Linked DNA regions of Homo sapiens: all the other regions are linked to region 2. The links are contacts of gene promoters, found by promoter capture Hi-C in blood cells and fetal thymus (Javierre and others, 2016). All regions are on one chromosome and are shown on one strand. Each heading gives the region's core, a stretch centred on a gene start or on the middle of the fragment in contact. The rest is flanking DNA. Distances are from core to core; before and after follow the strand shown.

What was found. The method cuts DNA at HindIII sites, captures the fragments that hold promoters and counts their contacts. A CHiCAGO score of 5 or more calls a contact.
Region 1: a fragment that was not itself captured here is called in contact with the fragment with the promoter of SASH3 in region 2 in 1 of 17 cell types (M0 macrophages); the score reaches 5.7 in M0 macrophages.
Region 3: a fragment that was not itself captured here is called in contact with the fragment with the promoter of SASH3 in region 2 in 2 of 17 cell types (M0 macrophages and M2 macrophages); the score reaches 6.1 in M0 macrophages.
Region 4: a contact is called between a fragment that was not itself captured here and the fragment with the promoter of SASH3 in region 2, in 11 of 17 cell types (non-activated CD4 T cells, M0 macrophages, M1 macrophages and 8 more). The highest score is 13.3, in non-activated CD4 T cells.

The regions. Positions count from the first base shown.
Region 1 is chrX:130,134,530-130,139,553 of GRCh38, reverse strand. AIFM1 (apoptosis inducing factor mitochondria associated 1) reads left to right here. Exons shown (of 16, transcript NM_004208.4): 9 at 853-961; 10 at 2,369-2,476; 11 at 2,823-2,911; 12 at 3,369-3,509. It also overlaps a transcript of RAB33A not described here. Among named protein-coding and RNA genes, the nearest start is that of ELF4, 27 kb to the right of the region's middle. The HindIII fragment of the contact is 1,276 bases long and covers 872-2,147 here.
Region 2 is chrX:129,777,793-129,782,827 of GRCh38, reverse strand. It overlaps SASH3 (SAM and SH3 domain containing 3), which reads right to left and starts at 2,879. Exons shown (of 8, transcript NM_018990.4): 1 at 2,674-2,879. The coding sequence starts at 2,730. It overlaps LOC124905215 (a long non-coding RNA gene), which reads left to right and starts at 294. Exons shown (of 2, transcript XR_007068328.1): 1 at 294-365; 2 at 2,549-4,253. RefSeq lists enhancers at 922-971, 1,082-1,261, 2,529-2,588, 2,639-2,718, 2,969-3,128. The HindIII fragment of the contact is 655 bases long and covers 2,336-2,990 here.
Region 3 is chrX:130,039,249-130,043,858 of GRCh38, reverse strand. BCORL1 (BCL6 corepressor like 1) reads right to left here. Exons shown (of 14, transcript NM_001379451.1): 11 at 4,577-4,610. Among named protein-coding and RNA genes, the nearest start is that of BCORL1, 59 kb to the right of the region's middle. The HindIII fragment of the contact is 3,769 bases long and covers 349-4,117 here.
Region 4 is chrX:130,057,748-130,062,689 of GRCh38, reverse strand. It overlaps BCORL1 (BCL6 corepressor like 1), which reads right to left. Exons shown (of 14, transcript NM_001379451.1): 14 at 4,619-4,942. Among named protein-coding and RNA genes, the nearest start is that of ELF4, 50 kb to the left of the region's middle. RefSeq lists silencers at 1,792-1,861, 1,882-2,181, 2,202-2,461. The HindIII fragment of the contact is 4,596 bases long and covers 1-3,772 here.

The DNA.
Region 1 (5,024 bases), core at 260-2,759, 360 kb before region 2:
ATTGCTCTTCCATAGTTGTTTTTTCCTGATGTGTTTGATTCATTGGAACCCCTTACAGCCTCTTGGCATTTTTCATTGCAAGTGCTGTGTAGAGACTTCTGAGAAAAAAGTTAAGAGTACCTAAATAAAAAGCAAGGAGGTGTTCTGCTTCTTAACACTGTGCTTATAAAAACTGCTGTCATTTTTCAGGGATAAGATTTGTCCTGTCTTTTTTTTTTTTTCGAGACTGAATCTCGCTCTATCACCCAGGCTGGAGTGCGGTGGTGCGATCTTGGCTCACTGCAACCTCCGCCTCCCGGGTTCAAGCGATTCTTGTGCCTCAGCCTTCCAAGTAGCTAGAATTACAGGCATGTGCCACCACGACCGGCTAATTTTTTTTTTTTTTGTATTTTTAGTAGGGACGTTTTACCCTGTTGGCCAGGCTGTGTACTGTCTTTTAAGTTCTTCCTAGAACAAGGCTTGTCAGCCTCTGCAGTATTGGCATTTTGAGCTGGATAATTGTAGTGGGGGCTGTCTTATGCCATTGTAGTATGTTAGCAGCATCCTGGCCTCTGCACACTAAATGCTGGGAGCACCTACTTGCCCTGACAACCAAAAATGTCTTCAGATATTGCCAGATGTCCTCCTGGGGAAGATAGGGACAAAACTGCCACCAATTGAGAACCACTGTTTATAGAAGGAATTTTACCATGAAGAAATAAATTTGCATTAATAACATAGAAGTTATAATTGAGTCACTTTATACAAGGAGAAAATTTACTTTTGCCAAAGATTTAGAAGAAACTACTTTCTAGTATTATTATCCTATGCCCCTTTTGGAAATTAATGGACTAAACTGATGTGATCCTGCAGATTGGAGACTTTAGAAGCTTGGAGAAGATTTCACGGGAAGTCAAATCAATTACGATTATCGGTGGGGGCTTCCTTGGTAGCGAACTGGCCTGTGCTCTTGGCAGAAAGGGTGAGTATTGAGGAGTGACCTTGATTTTCTTTCTCTAGTCTTATATAGCTTTTCTGTGAATCCCAGAGATGTGTTTGGCAGGATCAGTAGGAAGAGTTTAATTAAGGTTTATTTATTTATTTTTTTTTGAGATGGAGTCTCGCTCTGTCACCCAGGCTGGAGTGCAGTGGCGCGATCTCGGCTCACTGCAAGCTCCGCTTCCCGGGTTCAGGCCATTCTCCTGCCTCAGCCTCCCGAGTAGCTGGGACTACAGGCGCCTGTAACCACGCCTGGCTAATTTTTTGTATTTTTAGTAGAGATGGGGTTTCACCGTGTTAGCCAGGACTGTCTCGATCTCCTGACCTGGTGATCCGCCCACCTTGGCCTCCCAAAGTGCTGGGATTACAGGCGTGAGCCACCACACCCAGCCTAATTAAGGTTTATATAGTGAAAAGCTAAACACTGAGATTAGTTCTGGTGAGGGATCCCTTGGTGACCAAAAAGCTGTCACCTGAGCAACTTAACAGCGATGCTTTTTTTTTTTTTTTTTTGAGATGGAGTTTCACTCTTGTTGCCCAGGCTGGAGTGCAATGGTGTGATCTCTGCTCACCACAACCTCCGCCTCCCAGGTTCAAGCGATTCTCCTGTCTCAGCCTCTGGAGTAGCTGGGATTACAGGCATGCACCACCACACCTGGCTAATTTTGTATTTTTGGTAGAGACAGGGTTTCTCCATGTTGGTCAGGCTGGTCTTGAACTCCCAACCTCAGGTGATCCACCCACCTCGGCCACCCAAAGTGCTGGGATTATAGGTGTGAGTCACTGCACCTGGCCAACAGCAATACTTTCTTTCCTTTCTTTTCCTCTACCCTCTATGCCAGGACTCCTTAGAAATAAAATATTAAGGAAAGTGAGTTATGAAGATGATAAGGGCAATGCAGACTACAGAATTATGGGTGTCTTTGAACTGCTGCTTCCTGTAAAATGCCAAAAACTTCTTTGGGCACATGATGGTTCCCAGCTTGAGAGATCTGTGAGCTCCAGTTGGAATGTTTCATGGCAACTAGTTTTCTTAATGTTCTTTTTCAGATATATGAAATCAGGGCATCTTTTCAGGAGGATGCTTCCTATTCAGAGGTTGCAAAGCACTTATGTAAGCCTTAGGTGACTGCATGGGTGGAAGTGCACAGAGTTCACCATCTGAAGCTTAATCTGGGGCCAGCAGTTCTGATACCTGTTGTATTTGCGTTACAAATGAACTTGAGCACCGAGGCCCTCATGCCCACTGTCCTGTAAGTGGGCGCTCGGCCTGGATTGCAGCTCTGCCCTGTCTGTAGTGAGGGCTGCCTGCTGCTCCTTTACTTCTCTTCCTGTATTCCTAGGATTGACTTTTGCTTCCTGCTGTAACTACTCTGTTTCTTCTTCCCAGCTCGAGCCTTGGGCACAGAAGTGATTCAACTCTTCCCCGAGAAAGGAAATATGGGAAAGATCCTCCCCGAATACCTCAGCAACTGGACCATGGAAAAAGTCAGACGAGGTAGAGAGACTGTTTCTATATGCTGCCACTCTATTTCCTTTGAGTGTGACCTAAGGCAAACTTCGCTTCTATAGGAACCCCCTTGACATAAGCCCTATCACCTGGCCTGTAAAATGTTTCCACCATTCTCCAGTCAGCTAAGTTCATCTAGGTGTTCTGAATCAGATGCCCCAAATTCCTGGAAGTGCTGAAAATGAACCATGGGTGTAGGTTCTTGCAGCTCTCCAAAACTGCCTGTGTACTGATAATTGGTTTTACCGTGGAGGAGACCGCTGGTCAGCTTTCCTACTTCCCATGAAAGTGATAGCCTTGTAGGCTCACTCTCAGGTCTTGTTTGCCTTTACAGAGGGGGTTAAGGTGATGCCCAATGCTATTGTGCAATCCGTTGGAGTCAGCAGTGGCAAGTTACTTATCAAGCTGAAAGACGGCAGGAAGGTAAGGAAGGAAAAGATAGTCTGCCAAGAGGCCTTCCAGTTCTCCACTCCCCTTGCCTCATTTTTACTCCTTCATTTGACACCAGTAGATTAGTTTTCCTGGCAGTTGCCATTAACCTGATATAATTTTCCGAATTAACCATCCCTCCATTAAAACAGAATGATGAGAGCCAGAGTAGGCTCCTGTGAACCACTTTCCCTTAGCCCCATTCTATCTGTCTCACAGAGTTTTGAGTCCTGGCTAGGGTGGCAGATTTCTGTTCGAATGACATGGGGGATGTGCATGGGATGGGGTGGTGGAGGCTTATGAAATAGAACTTAAAATCCATTTATCAGAGGTAAGTTAACCCATGATTTTTTAAAGTCCCAATTCTTAATGGCATGAAGGGCCATTGTTACGCCTGTAGGCATAAATGGAAACTGTGGTAATTGACTGAATTATTTCTTTTTTGCCTCAGGTAGAAACTGACCACATAGTGGCAGCTGTGGGCCTGGAGCCCAATGTTGAGTTGGCCAAGACTGGTGGCCTGGAAATAGACTCAGATTTTGGTGGCTTCCGGGTAAATGCAGAGCTACAAGCACGCTCTAACATCTGGGTGGTAAGTGTGCTACAGCATGACCAGGCATAATTCATTCTCCCTAGCCTGTGAACAAGTCTGCCCGGTGGTGTGCTAAAGCTCATCAACAGCCTAACCAAATAGGGTCAGAGTGTTTGGAGGCTGAGGGTACAGAATAGAAATGTGTGAACTGCTTGATTCAGAAGACCAGGTATGGCCTCATCTGCAAGCTAGTGGCAGATGAAATGAACAGTGTGCATGCCTGCAGGGGTAGAGCTCTTCCGGTTCTACTTATTGGCAGCAGCTACTGGCATAACCCCTGGTGGGCATGCACATAAGCCTTCAGATGGATCTGCTGTTCCCTTTGCTCAAACTTGAATCCGGAGGATGGAGGATGAAGCAATGTTATAACCTGTTCCCTAGAAAGGAAAATTACTCTGTTTTCATTTTCCTTGAGTACTATTTTTAGCTGTTTTTTACAATCTATTATGACATAAACAAGACTATAGTATGTAGGAACCATGAGGTAATTTCCCCATTGCTAGTTACAAGTGTATTGTGTTTGTTTATGGACTCTGCAACTAAGGACGTAGGTACCTTGGAGGAATTTTTTTCCCCCTCCAAACCTTGTTTTTTTTTTTTTTTTTAAAAAAAAAAAGATGTACTGGATCTTTTTAACCTGTTATAAAAGTAATACGTGGGCCAGGAGAAGTGGCTTACACCTGTAATCCCAGCACTTTGGGAGGCTGAGGCAGGTGGATCACTTGAGATCAGGAGTTTGAGACCAGCCTGGCTAACATGGTGAAACCCTGTCTCTCCTAAAAATACAAAAATTAGCCGGGTGTGGTGGCACAGGCCTGTAATCCCAGCTACTTGGGAGGCTGAGTGAGGCAGGAGAATCACTTGAACTAAGGAGGCAGAGGCTGCAGTGAGTGGAGATCATGCCACTGCCCTCCAGCCTGGGCAACAACAGAGCAAGACTCAGTCTCAAAAAAAAAAAAAAAGTAATATGTGGTCAATGTAGAAGACAGACAAGAAGGAGAGAGGAGAGGAAAGTCACCTGCAGCAACCATTAATATTTTGGTGTATTTCCTTCCCTGTGTTTCCTTGCATGTAGGTTTTATTGTTGGTTTGTTTTATTCGTGGCAAGCATACTATATATAATATTCTGCTCTTTTCCACTTAACACCATAAATGTAAGCATTTTCTATGTTGCTTCAGACTTTGTAAACAGTTTAATGACTATATATTCCATTAAGCGAATTTCACAGTTTACGGTTGCTCACTCGTTGGATTTTTAGGTTGCTTTGGGGGAGTCTAAATAGCCACAAAGATGAACAAAGGGTTAGAGAGCTCAAATGCCACATCCTTCATGAAGCTGGTCCAGTTCACCCCCGGCTGGAGGTTCTCGCCCTCTGCTTGAAATACTTGACTCCTTTAATCTGTACCTCTCATATGGCACACTACTGTTTACATTGCTCTGTAGTTGTGAGCAAGGCTGTATCTTTCTGTACTAGGTTGTATGCTCCTCATAGTCAAGGTCCATGTCAGTTTTGT
Region 2 (5,035 bases), core at 1,630-4,129:
AGGCGCCATGTCCTAGCCCTACCATTCTAGAGGGCCCGCACCCTCCTCTGCTCTGCTGGCTGGAAGGTCACTCATTCCACAGCTATCTGGGTCTGCCCCACGGAGCTCTCCTGCTGATGGGTTGAATCTTTTATGCTCATCAGACTCTTCTAGCGCCTTTGAGATCAACAAGGGGACAAGAGAGTGGAGAGAGAAGGGGTCAAGATTCTGGAGTCAGACAAATCTTGGCTTGGATCCCTGCTCGGCAGCTTCCCAGCTGTGTGACCTTCAGCAAGTTGCTTCACCTCTGTGAGCCTCAAGTGTCAAATAGGGATAATGACAATATCTGCCCCTACCTCACCAGGTTGTCGTGGGGAGTGAACAAGGTAAGAGATGCACAGCACCGTGCCTGGCATCCCATGAGCTCTCACTCTGTGGTGGCTCTTAGTACTATTAAGTCTTGTGTTCTCTGTGCCAGCACTGGGGGCATGGCTCATTCTTCTTTGCAGTGTCTCCCTATCCCCACCCATGCCTACAGCAGGCACCCCCTTGTGTGGTATGCACGTGCACACTTGTGACAGGGTACTCTCACATCTATTCTTTTGGGTGATCTGTACAACCTCTTGAGGGGGGCAGATTAGGAGTTATCCTCCTTTTCAGAGGCGAGGAAACTGAGGCCCAAAGAAAGTCAATGAGCTGTCCAAGGTCCTACAGCTAGAGCGTGGTAGGATTCCAGCTCAGCTTTCTTGCCCCCTGTCTGGCACATTCTCCATTGGCAGGCCCAAGAGGAGAAGCAGGGGCAGGAGAAAGAGGCCTCTCTTGCCTTTGTGCTTTCCTCTCCACCACGTCATCTCAGCCTCTGAGAAGAAGGGACTAGCAGTGATTCAGCCAGCCCGCTGCCTCTGGGCCTGGGGAAGATGCTCTGTACCTTCTGGAAGCTTGGCTTCTGGGGGACATTTCCATAGTCTGGGGCTAGCAGAGTGTGTGGAGGCAAGCTCATCCCAGCTCTGGAGGCTGGCACCGGCTCTGGCAGGGGTTGGGGTGGGGTTTGCCTGGACTACTCTCCCCGAAAGGACCCCTTCTCCTGGGAGAGACCTGGGGAAATCCCAGGGGCCCACTTGCCTGCCGAACACAGAATCTGGGTAATTGAAGCTGGGAAAGAAAAAGGGGACTTCTGGCTTCTGTGTGCCCCTAGGTACGTCTTCCTGATGTGGCACAGGGTCCCAGTGTCAAAGTGTCAGCTCTTTCTCACACTTTCCTCCAGCTCAGCGCCCCTGTGGTTTGAGGCCTAGCAGTGTCTATAGAGCAATCTCTGTTTCCCACCCCCACCAGCCAGAGAGCAAGGGGAAGTGGCCCTGCTCTCTTAGGAGTGGCAGCCAATGGCAGTCCTGCTGGGCCTAGCACCCTGCAGGGTTTGGACGGGGATGACAGAGCCCGTGTGAAGATTCATGAACCTCCCCCCTCCCCCGCCCACCACCACTGCAACCTTAGAGAAGCAGCTGGGGTGGGGAGAATACAGCCGGAAGTGGCAGCCACCCCAGGACCTGAGAGCTGGGGCAGGATGCACACCCCACTGCCCCGAGTCTCAGTCTTTCAGCTGCCTTGGCCTCCATCTCTGAGCTACTCCCCTGACAAGGGGGATCCACCATAGGGCACCTGGGCTGAGTTCCAGGGAAAATTGGCGGGGGATAGCCTGGGCCTCTTGGACCTAGTTCAGGCCTGCTTTGGGACTGTCCTAGCATCCCATTGGATGTGTAGGATATACTTGCTGATTGTCTGGGAGAATCCTTCAATTGAATTAAAGAATTAGGTCTAGAAATCCTCAAACCCAACCAAAGAAATCTGGAAATCCTCAAATTCAACCACAAAATCCTAGATCTGGCACAGCCTTCAAGGATTCTTCCAGTCCGGTCTCTGCCCCAGGGGGATGAACACCTCAGCCATCCATGACAGCTGTTTTTCCTCCTGGCCTTTAAAATCCTCCCTCCTCAGCCTTCACTCCTACTCACCACCTCAACTTAATTTCTCATTCCCCACCCAGGAAGAACCTGTATGCCCCCTGCATCCCACTGCACTTCCGGATGCCTTTTCCCCCAAGACTGGAATGGCCTCAGGCCCCCATCTCCAGGTTGGCTCCATCTCGGGTAGGGCCTGGGAGCTACCACAGAGCTGAGCCAAGTGGGCAGGGTCTGGGCCATGGCCAAAGTGGAGGAGGGGGTGGCAGTCCTGTGAGCATCATGGCTCCAAGCTGGGCAGCCCAGCAGGGCCCTTTGAGTGAGATGGCTCCTGAGAGGCCGTGGCCGGGGCAGAAGTGGCAGCAGGACCAGCGTAGAGGAGAGATAGTTAAGTACAAGCTTAGGGTTCAGCTTAAGCATTGTATTTTGTTATTCTCAAATTCTAGTCTAAGATTCTGGCCCCTAATTTTAGATCTTTTTTCCCATTCTTCTAGGGTTGAATTGCATGACTCTAGATTTCTAAGGATCTATTCTGTAACTCTGTTGCTCCAGAATTTTAAACATCTCTTCTGTACTTCTGTTAACCTTTGGGTCCCTGTCCCGTTGCCTTCTAGGTGAGTGGCCCTCACCTACAGACTCAACATATGGCCTTTGGCTCTTCCCACTTCCAAGAGTCTTGGAAGGGATGGGTCGAGCAAGCAGAGGAAAGGAAGATGTGAGTTCCCAAAATGCTCCTCACCTTTTTCTTCTGAGTGGGCTCCTTCTCACTGGCATTGGAGGGCTTGCGGCGCAGCATGGTCCTCCACCCTGGGAGACTCCGTCCCTGCTCTCCTAGGTGTCAAGATGCAGAGGCCTCTTGCTTAGCCTCACCAGAACTGCCCGGGGGCACGGCATGAACCGAGCCTTCAGCTGCCACTCTGACTGCTGCAGTGGCAGCTTGGGGGTGCGGGCCATGGACACCCGGCAGCAGCAGCATACAGGAAGCCCTGCCACGTGACCTACTCTTACAGCAATCGCAGCCCCTGCCGGCCCCTAGGGAGGAAGGAAGTCCAAGCTTCAGTCTCCAGAGATTCTGATGCAGACGGCTCTTGGGTTGAACAGTCAGAGAAAGTCCCTACCTTGTTGTCTCATGTCGATCATCATCAGTCCTTCTGCTCCATCTTCCTAGAGGTGGACAATCAGCTCGACATTATATGGCGTACCCAAGCCCTTTATCTCACTGACCAGAATCCAGAAACCAGAAGTTGGACCATCTGGCTGCCTGTTGGATCAATGCTCCCGGTCAACTCACGTCTTCAAGGTCGTCACTGCCATCACTACCACTACCATCACCCCTGTGACCATCACCACTGCTACCATCACTCCTATCAATAGCCATCACCATACAGCCATCACCCCTACAGCCATCAGGCCTGCAGCCATCCCCGCTGCCATCAGCACACCTATAGCCATTGTCACTATGGTAATCACCTCTACAGTTGACATCCTTCAGCCATCACCTCTACAGTCATCACCATTGCTGCTATCACCCTTCCAGCCATCATCCTTACAGCTGTCACCCTTCTGGACATTACAGCCAACCGCACTCATGACCCTCTCACCCCTATAACCATCGTCCCTACAGTCATCTCTCCTACAACCATCATCACATCCGTGCAGCCATCAGCCCTGCAGCCATCACTCCTACAGCCATCAGTACACCTAAAGCCATCATCACTAGAGCAGTCACCCCTCCAGTCAGTACCCCTCAGCCATCATGAGTATATTTATCACCACCACAGCTGAAAAGCACTTACAGCCAACTCCACACCTCTAGCAAGTATCCAACAGGCATTTATCAAACACCTATGCAGTATATTCAATTTGTGGGTTGTCTGTGGCAGATTTTAATAACTTTAATAACTTCTTGGTATTACAAAAGCAACTTGTATTTGTCATACAATTTCACAAACACATAAACAAAAAAAATTTCAAAATTTCCCATCATTGTCCTCTACACTGTTTTAAGCATCTATCTACTCTCTGTCTATAAACATTTTTTTTCTTTTTACAAAAATCATACTGCTCAGAAAACAGATAATTGGTTTGGGGAGAAGGGGAGGGGAGAGAAGGGAAGGGAGACATCACACAGGGTAACAGGAAGCTTTTAGGAGTGATGAATATGTTCACTATCTTGACTGTGGTGATGATTTCATGGGGGAATACACATGTCAAAACGTATCAAATTGTATACTTCAAATATGTGCAGTTTATTGTAGCTCCATTATACCTCAATAAAGCTGTTTAAAATTTTTTAATTAAAAAAGGTCATAATTCACACTATTGGTGTCTGCTTTTCACACTAAACACAGTATCTTTTTTGTTTTTTTTTCGAGATGGAGTCTCTCACTCTGTCTCCCAGGCTGGAGTGCAGTGGCGTGATCTCGGCTCACTGCAACCTCCACCTCCTGAGTTCAAGCAATTCTTGTGCCTCTGCCTCCCAAGTAGCTGGGACTATAGGTGCGTACCACCACCCTGGTTAATTTTTGTATTTTTTGTAGAGACAGGGTTTCACCATGTTGCCCAGGCTGGTCTTGAACTCCTGGTCTCAAGTGACCTCTTTGCCTCATCCTCCCAAAGTGCTGGGATTACAGGCGTGAGCCACTACGTCCAGCTGAACACAGTATCAAGATTGTCTCATGCTATGAAATAGTCTTCAACTACGTAATTTATAACGGCTGTGGAACATCCCATTGTGTGGATGTGCCGTGCTTATTTCACCAAGCCCTTGCTGATGAACTTGGGTTGGCTTAAATTTTTAAATTATTCATTGAACATACTTATGGTAAATATTCACATCCATAGTTTTTTTTCTGTAGGGGAAATATCCAGAAGAGGAATTGCTGGGGTCAAAGGTATGCACATTTTTAAGGCTTTCAATTCTGTGGTACTTGTGAAATACTAGGCTTGTCCACCCCTGTTCCCAAGATGTTCTCGTGACTTCCTCTCCGATTCTGCTTTATGCCCTCTGACCATCCAACCTTCAGGGTGAGCTCAGGGAAGATAAGATCTTTCTTCCCTAAGCTGAAACCATACATTCTTTGGCCTACTCAGTCGGCCAG
Region 3 (4,610 bases), core at 984-3,483, 260 kb before region 2:
GGCAGAGCTTGCAGTGAGCCGAGATCCTGCCACTGCATTCCAGCCTCCGTCTCAAAAAAAAAAAAAAAAAAAAATATATATATATATATATATATATATATATATATATATAACAAATTAGCTGGGCATGGTGGCGGGCGCCTGTAGTCCCAGCTAGTGGGGAGGCTGAGACAAAAGAATCACTTGAACCTGGGAGGCGGAGGTTGCGGTGAGCCAAGATTGCGCCATTGCACTCCAGCCTGGCGACAGAGCGAGACTCCGTCTCAAAAATAAATAAATAAATCAGAAGTCCATGTAAATGTATCTAGGTGTAGGGGCTGAGGAGGCAGAGCAGTGGAGGGAAAAGCTTCCCCAGCCTCCAGTCTCCACACTCGGGTGCTTCCTGCAGCCACCCTACCAACCTACCCAGTGGTTCCTGGAGATTTGGCAGGGAGGCACACAGGCATGAAAAATGAGAGCCAAACACTCAGTTCAAGGCATCCAAACAGCCCCTGAGGTTGGCTGCACAACATTAGGAATGTACTAAATGGGCCAGGAGCGGTAGCTCATGCCTGTAATCCCAGCACTTTGGGAGGCCAAGGGAGGCGGATCACTTGAGGTCAGGAGTTGGAGACCAGCCTGGCCAACATGGTGAAACCTACCTCTATTAAAAATATAAAATTAGCCAGGCACAGTGGTGCACACCTATAGTCATAGCTACTCGGGAAGCTGAGGCAGGAGAATCACTTGAACCTGGGAGGCAGAGGTTGCAGTGAGCTGAGATCATGCAACTGCATTCCAGCCTGGGTAACAGTGAGATTTGTCTCAGGAAAAAAAAAAAAAAAAAGAGAATGTACTAAATCCCACTGAATTGTTCACTTTATTTTTTTTAATTAATTAATTTTTTGAGACGGAGTCTCGCTCTGTCGCCCAGGCTGGAGTGCAGTGGTGTGATCTCAGCTCACTGCAAACTCCACCTCCTGGGTTCAAGCAATTCTCCTGCCTCAGCCTCCCGAGTAGCTGGGATTACAGGCATGCACCACCACGGTCCAGCTAACTTTTGTATTTTTAGTAGAGAGGGGGTTTCACCATGTTGGTCAGGCTGGTCTCCAGTTCCTGACCTCAAGTGATCCACCCACCTTGGCCTCCCAAAGTGCTGGGATTACAGGGGTGAGCCACCACGCCTGGCCCGAATTGTTCACTTTAAAATGATTATGTTAGGTAAATTTTACCTCAATTTTTAAAAAAGTCCCTGAGTGCTGTCCTCTCACACACCCTACAAACAGCCTTTGGGCCTAAGGGCCCCCTGCTTCTTGAGAGCCTGCTGACTCCTGCCAGTGCCTGCCTTCCTGTGGTGGTAGGCCAAGGTCCCAGGCTGCCTTTGCATGGAAAAGAGCTGGTGCACTTTATAGCAACCCATTGGCTCCTGACTCCCATTATTAAGCCTGATTCATGCCCATAAATTGAGCAAAAGGTCTAAATGAAGACTGGGCATGGTGGCTCACACTTGTAATTCCAGCACTTTGGGAGGCCAAGGCGGGAAGATAGCTTGAGCCCAGGAGTTCCAGACCAGCCTGGGCAACATAGCAAACCCCGTATCTCAACAAAAAGATAAAATACAAAATTAGCTGGGACCGGTGGCACACACCCGTGGTCCTAGCTACTTGGGAGGCTGAGGCAGGAGGATTGCTTGAGCCCAGGAGTTTGAAACTGCACTGAGCTATGATTGTACCACTGCACTCCAGCCTCGGTGACAGAGCAAGACACTGTCTCTAGTAATTTTTAACAAATCTAAATAAAGGTGCTCAGCCAGGACAAGTTAGGAAGTGCTGGAGTCTCTAGCCTGGGCAACACAGCAAGACTCTGTCTCAAATATATATAAACACATATACGTACATACACACACACACCACAAATATGTGAAGTACTAGAGTTAAGAAAAGTCTTCTCTGGGGCCGGGCGCGGTGGCTCACGCCTGTAATTCCAGCACTTTGGGAGGCCGAGGCGGGCGGATCACGAGGTCAGGAGATCGAGACCATCCTGGCTAACATGGTGAAACCCCGTCTCTATTAAAAATACACAAAAATTAGCCGAGCTTGGTGGCGGGTGCCTGTAGTCCCAGCTCCTTGGGAGGCTGAGGCAGGAGAATGGTGTGAACCCGAGAGGTGGAGGTTGCAGTGAGCTGAGATCACGCCACTGCACTCGAGCCTTGGCGACAGAGCAAGACTCCGCCTAAAAAAAATAAAAGTCTTCTCTGAATTCTGCAACATAGACTGGCATTCAATTTAGTTTCAGGAGGTGTCAAAAAGCTGGCTAGCAGAAGTTCGAGACCAGCCTGGCCAACATGGCAAAACCCTGTCTCTACTAAAAATTCAAAAATTAGCCGGGCATAGTGGCGAATGCCTGTAATCCCAGCTACTCAGGAGGCTGAGGAATGAGAATCGCTTGAACCCGGGAGGCAGAGGTTGCAGTGAGCCAAGATCGCGCCAAAAACAAAACAAAACCAAAAGATAGCTAGTAGTTGGGATGAGGAGACAGAAAGATAAGAGAAACGTGTTTATTTCTCTCCTCTCTGTCTCTTTTTTTTTTTTTTTTTTTTTTGAGACACTGTCTCACTCTGTTGCCCAGGCTGGAGTGCAGTCACCATACCTGGCTAATTTTTAAATTTTTTTGTAGAGACAAGGTCTCCGTATGTTGCCCAGGCTGGTCTCAAACTCCTGGCCGGAAGCAATTCTCCTACCTGAGCCTCCCAAAGTGCTGGGATCACAGGCATAAGCCACTGCGCCTGGCCTATTTCCCATTTTTTAACTACTTAAAATGGTTTCCACATTCCTACTCCTTAGGGGTTTTGGAGAAGGGATTGGGGAAGCAAAGAGTTCATCTGTTTACTAAGGTGGTCACAGTGTTATTTAGATCTAGGAGCCCCTGAGACCCTCGGGATGGCAGTTTCTAGCCTAAGGAGGCCTCGGGACTAGACCGGTTTCTCAAAGACAGAGCTGCGTGTGGTGCCTTTGTCATATCAAGATGCTCTGGATGCTTGTTGGTCTCAGATTTTCCTGGGAATCCAGTGGAGTGCAGATAACACGTGTATGTGTCTAAGAGAGAGTGCATGTGTACACAGTACGTGGGAGGCAGCTACCAACGGTGGCTTGCCCCAAGCCCTGCACCCCTAGGGATGGTTCAGCTAAGGGGAACAACAGTCACCACTGGCCCAGGACAAATGACTGAATGAACATTCCAAGGCTGCTCTGCGCCTCAAGGACAGGGGCTTGGGAACCCAGAGCTGGAGGGAGGGAAAACAGAAAAGGCAGCCATCCTGCCCCCAGCCTGGGAGATGCTAGTCAGGCTGTACAGGCCTAAGGCCTGTGCTCCAAGGTTTAGTCAGCTCAGCTGAGACCTGGGTGGAGGCTGGCTGAGCAGGAGTCAAGATCTCCCGCGACAGCCTCCTATTACCCCCCACTCACCGCCTACCTAGTCCTCCCCTTCCATAAGAGCCTTTAGTTAGGTCCCCTTTGTTTCTTCCTCCATCATCAGCTACTTAGTTAACCTTTGTTGGATAAACAAATGAGCCCCTGGTTGGGAGCCTGGAACCATATATCTGGAGGTATAGAGGTTCGGGGCTAACTAGGGCCAAAGTCTGGGTGAGAAGAGGGAGCAGCTTTGGGCCAATCCTTAGTCCTGTTGGCTCCTGGCCAGAGAGGGGTTCTAACCACAATACAAACACTGCAGCCTCCAAGAAGGTTCAGAGATACAACTCCCAGCTGCTCCGCCGCTCAGGCAGTCTGAAGAAGTCACTGCTAGAGCAAGGGCCAAACTGTGATGTCACTAAGAGGCAGGGTTCCTTTATTCAGAGGTCAAGTCTGAGGAGATTCCTACTGAGCATGCCCAAGCTAGACTCCCCTCCTTCCCTCCTCCCCCTGCCCAACTCAGTAGAGCTATCTAACTGCAGACAAACAGCTGCTATCCACTAATGAGAAAATAAATGCATGTTGGCTTGTGGCCCTTGCCATGGGCCTCAACACCAGACACTTTACAGAAGGGGCAGGTGAGGGAGGAAAAGGAACGGAAGGAAGGGGGACCCTGGGATGCAGAGGGAACATCACAGTTCCCACAGGCAAGGGCTGTAAAGAATGAAGCTTCGGGAAGCATCCCAGGGGTTCCACTGTGATCCACTTGATCACAAACAAGAAGAAATTGCAAACACATAAGCAAAATGCTAAGTATCACTTTGTTGCAACTGACATCCCATTCAAAGCACAGGTCAACACATTCTGCCCCCAGCTAGGTCTACTAGTGGGGCTGCCGCCCCCACACAGAGGCCCACCCTAGATCCCTAGCTACGAAATAGGTCCCTGTGGGCTCCCAGGGCCCTGAAGAGGACGCACACACTTGCAGTAAGGGGATAAGAGGAAGTGGCCTTTGGACTTTTTCAAGCAAACTGAGATTCTTGAGCTCTTTGAATGAAAGCAGGTGAAGAGGGCAGATGGCCCTCATGGGAGCTGTTCAAGGTGGAAGGAGATGAAGAGGATGTCCTCACAAGTTCAGGAATCAGAGGCTGGCCCCAAGGACAACAGTGTCAAGTCTGGACCATGCTTACCACTGAGAAAGCGCTTCATGGTGTCGCTGCTGGC
Region 4 (4,942 bases), core at 225-2,724, 280 kb before region 2:
GCGAAACCCCATCTCTACTAAAAATACAAAAATTAACCGGGCTTGGTGGCACGCACCTATAATCCCAGCTACTGGGGAGGCTGAGGCAGAGAATCCCTTGAACCTGGAGGTGGAATTTGCAGTGAGTCGAGATTGTACCTGGGTGATCAAAGCAAGACTGTCTCAAAAAAAAAAAAAAAAAAAAAGAAAAGAAAAAAAGTACAATCCATCCTTCAAGATCTGATTGGTTCCACTCAATCAGAATGTCCTTCCTATCCTGCTAGTACCAATTAAATTGTGTCCCTCCTTCAAGACTCGATTCATGGACTCTGCCTCCCCAGACCAGTCTGTCCTAAGTGAGTTATTTAAAACTTATTGCAATTGCCACTCTTTCAGCAACTGATCATGAACACCCTGTGACATCTATTATAATGCAAACTGTTACTTAAATCTTCAATGACCTGTACCTATTTAGTGTCCCCAATTAGCACATTACCTCCTTGAGGAGTGGGAGGGACTGTATCAACCACGTAACATGGCACAGTACAAAGGATCAAGGTAATGGTTACTGATGGAGCCGGTGGGAGATGGGGACCAAACTTTGAGGTAGGTGACCTCTGACCTCCCCTCTGCACAGGCACTCACCCCAGGTGCTCCACTGCTCTGGGCCTGCCCTCCCTGGCTCAGTGCCCTCATGGTATCCCCAACCCCACCCCCCCATCTTAGCACTCAAAATTTGTTACTATTTTGAACATCCTCTACCCCTAAAGCAACTTCCCTGTCCAGTTTCTTTCCTACTCCAAGTGTGAAACTAGCTAAACCAATTAACCTGTGCTGATACAGTTATGGGAGAGGGCTAGAGGAGAACCTCAGGAGACAGGTTCATTTTAACCAGAGTCATGTGGCAGTAAGTCTCTGCCTTTTCTTGGTTTAATGGAGTCAGGAGTCAAGAGATGACCCTCATCTCCCAGCAGCTGATATGTTACTCCCTCCTCTGGGTTCCCACAGCACTTTGTTTTCTTTATTTTTTTGAGATAGAGTCTCCCTCCGTTGCCCAGGCTGGAGCGCAGTGGTGCGATCTTGGGTCACTGCAGCCTCTGCCTCCCGAGTTCAAGCGGTTCTCCTGCCTCAGCCTCCCAAGTAGCTGTGACTACAGCTGCGTGCCACCACGCCCGGCTAATTTTTGTATTTTTAGTAGAGAACGGGTTTCACCATGTTAGCCAGGCTGGTCTCGAACTCTTGACCTCAAGTGATCCGCCCACCTCAGCCTCCCAAGGTGCTGGGATTACAGCCCTGAGCCACCTCACAGCACTTTGTAAATACCTCTTATGGTAGCACTTAGCACAGTACAGTTCTTTAATTACGTGTTTATGTAGGGTTCCCCGCCAATAGGCTGTGAGCTCCTCAAGGACAGGGACTGTGTGTTAGTCACTGATATATCCCTAGTGCCTAGCACACAGTAGGTTCTTAATAAATGCTTATTGAAAGAAGGAACTGGTCCTGATTTTAATTCTGAGACTTCTGCCCTATGCTATGGCAGGCAAGAGGAGAGGGAGGAGGACAATCCACACTTGGGAGCTAAGGCAGCTTTCTGCCCGCTCCTATAACACTGCAGGCGGCTACTTCCTTTGCCCCTGGAGTGTTAACAGACATCCCCGGATCACAGGGTCCATGAGGAGCCCAGGGCTGCTTGCCAGCTGTGCGTTGCTGTCACCAGGTGCCACGTGCAACTCCCGAACTCCCGCCCTTTGCTGCTGCCCGCTTCCAGGGACTGCCTCGCCACTATTTCCTCACCCCTGGGTGGGGCTGTGCGGTGGAAGTGTCAGCTCCGGTGGGTGGGGCGGGACAAGAAGTTATTCTGACGGTCACAGGCCTTTCTGATCCCATCTTGTACTCCAAAAGAGGCAGTTGCCTCCAGCTCTGAAGCCGCTGGACCTGGGGTGAGTGAGCTCCTTCCCCTCCCAGACTGAGGTCCCAGCCTCCGAGAACTTCGGGCCCCGGCGCGCCGGACGTGGAGGCCGACGTCCAGCAGGTGGCGCTGTCGAGCCAGCGATGGCGGGAGAGTGGCCCGGCGGGGCCCGGGAAGGGAGGGGCAGCCAGGGTTGGGCCTACCGTCCCTGGCGGAGGCGGCCGCGGCCGCGGCTGGCGTCTTCCGGTCCCCCGATCTTGCCCCTGCGCCTGCAACTGTCCCCGGATGGTTCTGGCCGCCACCAAAGCCCTCCGCTGCTCCGGAGCTTCGAACTTTCCCCTCGACCCCAGCCCCCTTCACTTTCCAGGGGGAATTTAGCCGGCCGCCGAATGCGCTCCCCCATTGGCCAGCCGCGCTCTGGCCCCGCCCCCGGCGCCCCCTCCCTCAGCCTCGCGGACCAGCAGGTGAGCACGCGGAGTCGCAGTCACCCGGCCTGCCCTCCCCTCCCCTCGCGCGCCGCCGCCTTCTACCGTGAAGCGGGAGAGCGATCGAGGCGCCCCAGACAGCCGTTTGCTAGCGGAGGGACCTGACCGTCCGCCGCACGAGCCCGGCTCCCAAGGACCGGCGCGGGGCCTAAAGACGTCGCCCCCAGAGGCCGGACGCTGCGGCTCGGCCGACCCCCGCGCGGTGGCAGCCGGAGCGCTAGGGAAACGAGTGGAGCCCCGGCCCGGATCCTGCTGCGGGATCCAGAAGGCCCGAGCACTTCGCGTCCCCCTGCCCAGCAGTTGAGCAGACGCCCCTGGGGCGGACCCCACCCTTCCCAAACACACACACACTGGTCTTTGCATGGGCAGGACACAGTTAAACACCCACCAGGCCTCCCGGTTATTGGGTTAGAGTATGGACCGAGCAGGAGTTTACTGCCCCATTCACCACCGCCCCCAACCCCACCTACCCCAAATAGGGATGCGGAGACTATCCCTCCTCCCACCAAGACTTGAACAGAGCCTCTCTTTCAAGCCCAAAGAGCGTTCTGATAAGACCCTCATTAACCATAGGTTCGTGAGCTCGGCATGAAGGAGGAACTAATTTTGGCTAAACAGATCTTTATGGTCCTCAGTGTGATGCTCTGTCAGTAGGTGGGTACATTGGCCTCCATTTGGCTGATGGAGCAATTAAGGCTGGGAAAGATTAGGTTCTCGCCCAAGGTCAGCCTAGGTAGTTAGGAGTGGTGCTGGCTCTTTCCTCTACACCATACTAAAAGGACTGGGAGATCATTTAATAAGAGGCCACCAAGCCATCCTCACCCCAATCCTGACCGGGGATGTAGATTTAATGCCACGGCCCATACTTCCTGCCTTGATCTTTCCAACCTGGCAGAAGGGCAGTGGGACTCCAGGTAAGCCGTGGGCAAAGAACCCCAAAAGCAATAAAACAATCTGCTGTTTGGTTTTGCTTTTAACTCCCCTTGTATCCAAGCCTTTGCTCAGATTGTCCTCTCAGTTCAAACACTCTTCCCTGCCACCTCTAATTCCTGCATTTCTACTTTTTAAAGTATCAACTAGGCATCACCTCTTCTAGGATGTGTTCCCAGGGCCCTTGCCCATGCTTCTGAGCTCCCATAGCATCCTGGGACTAGTTGAATTCTTATACTCACCACATGGCTTTATAACCTATCAACATGTCAGATTTCTTGACTTAACTGCAAGTTCCAAGCACAGGATCGACCTGAATTCAGAACCACTGTGGGCTTGTTTGGGAATCTGACAAAGGTGGCTATTGCATAGGGCCTTGGGATCAGAAAGTGGGGAGAGGACGGCCAATGAGGAAGATTAATGCTATGGTTCAAAGAGGATGATGCTTGGACCTGGGTCGAGCCAAGCTTCTGAGGCTTGAGCAAAGACAGCAGCTTAGAGTTCACTCCTGAGGACGGCTGGACTCCAGCCAGCCAGACGCACAGATCCCTTCGCCTCTACACTCTCTAACAGGGCTCTCCAGACTCGAAAGCCACAGTGAGAAGCCCTAAGAGAATAGAGCTTCAAAGGGCCTCATCCCAGGCCTCTCGAACATCCTCTTCCTCTCAGTCACTGGTGCATTCTGGAACCAGCAATCACAAGAATCATAGCTTCTACCACTGTTTTTCAGAAGTGGGAGGAAAAACTGCAAAATCCAGGATGGGCATCTTGCCTTCATGGTAGCTCGGTGGCAGGAAAACAGAACCATGGAAGGCCTGCACCGTGGGTGGGGAGCACTGGCACAACAGTGAGGGCAGTGATGAGGCCATGCAGCCAGATGCCACCTCGGCAGGGTGGCCTAGGGCAAGCAGGGGACTTCCTTAAGGAGGCTTATTCCCACAGCCACCACAGAGAAGGCTACTTCCTCCAACCCTGCTACTCCTATGTAAACAAGGACTGCCCAGGCACCTGCTTCAACCCCAAACCAAAGCAACAGGAGCCAGATGCTCCATTTGCCCCCACTGGCCCCGCCCCCAGGATTTGCCCCTTTCTTTTTCTTTCCAGATCGTGACCCAATGTTCACTAGCCACTCCACCTTGCCTTTATTCATCGTACCCCTTGGGACCCACAGCTGCAAAGCAGGATGGCGGGGGCTCCCCATTTACTGAATCACAATGCCCACCTTCTGAAACCACCAAAAAGTCCCAAAGGGGAGGAGAGAAAAAGAGAGACGGGAGAGAAAAAGAGAGACGGGAGACAGAAGCCCTGACACAGGTTTTTCAGTATGCAAGTGTTTTTGACTCCACAGCCAGTTGCTTAAAATGAAACATAAAGGGCAGCCAGAATATACACCCAAATGCGAAAAAAGGAAAGGCAAACAGAACATGAAATAAACTACACAATACCAGGAACCCCAACAAAACCAACAAATTAAAGTCCAAAACCCCTCAACTTTATATATATATATGTATATATATATGTATTTTTTTTTCTTAAAAAGGGAAAACAACTGTTCAAAACCAACTGGGCAGTATGGTGGGGGTGGGGAGCAGTCCTACAGAAGGGGGCCGAGAACTTCCCCCCCAGGAACAAAGAACAA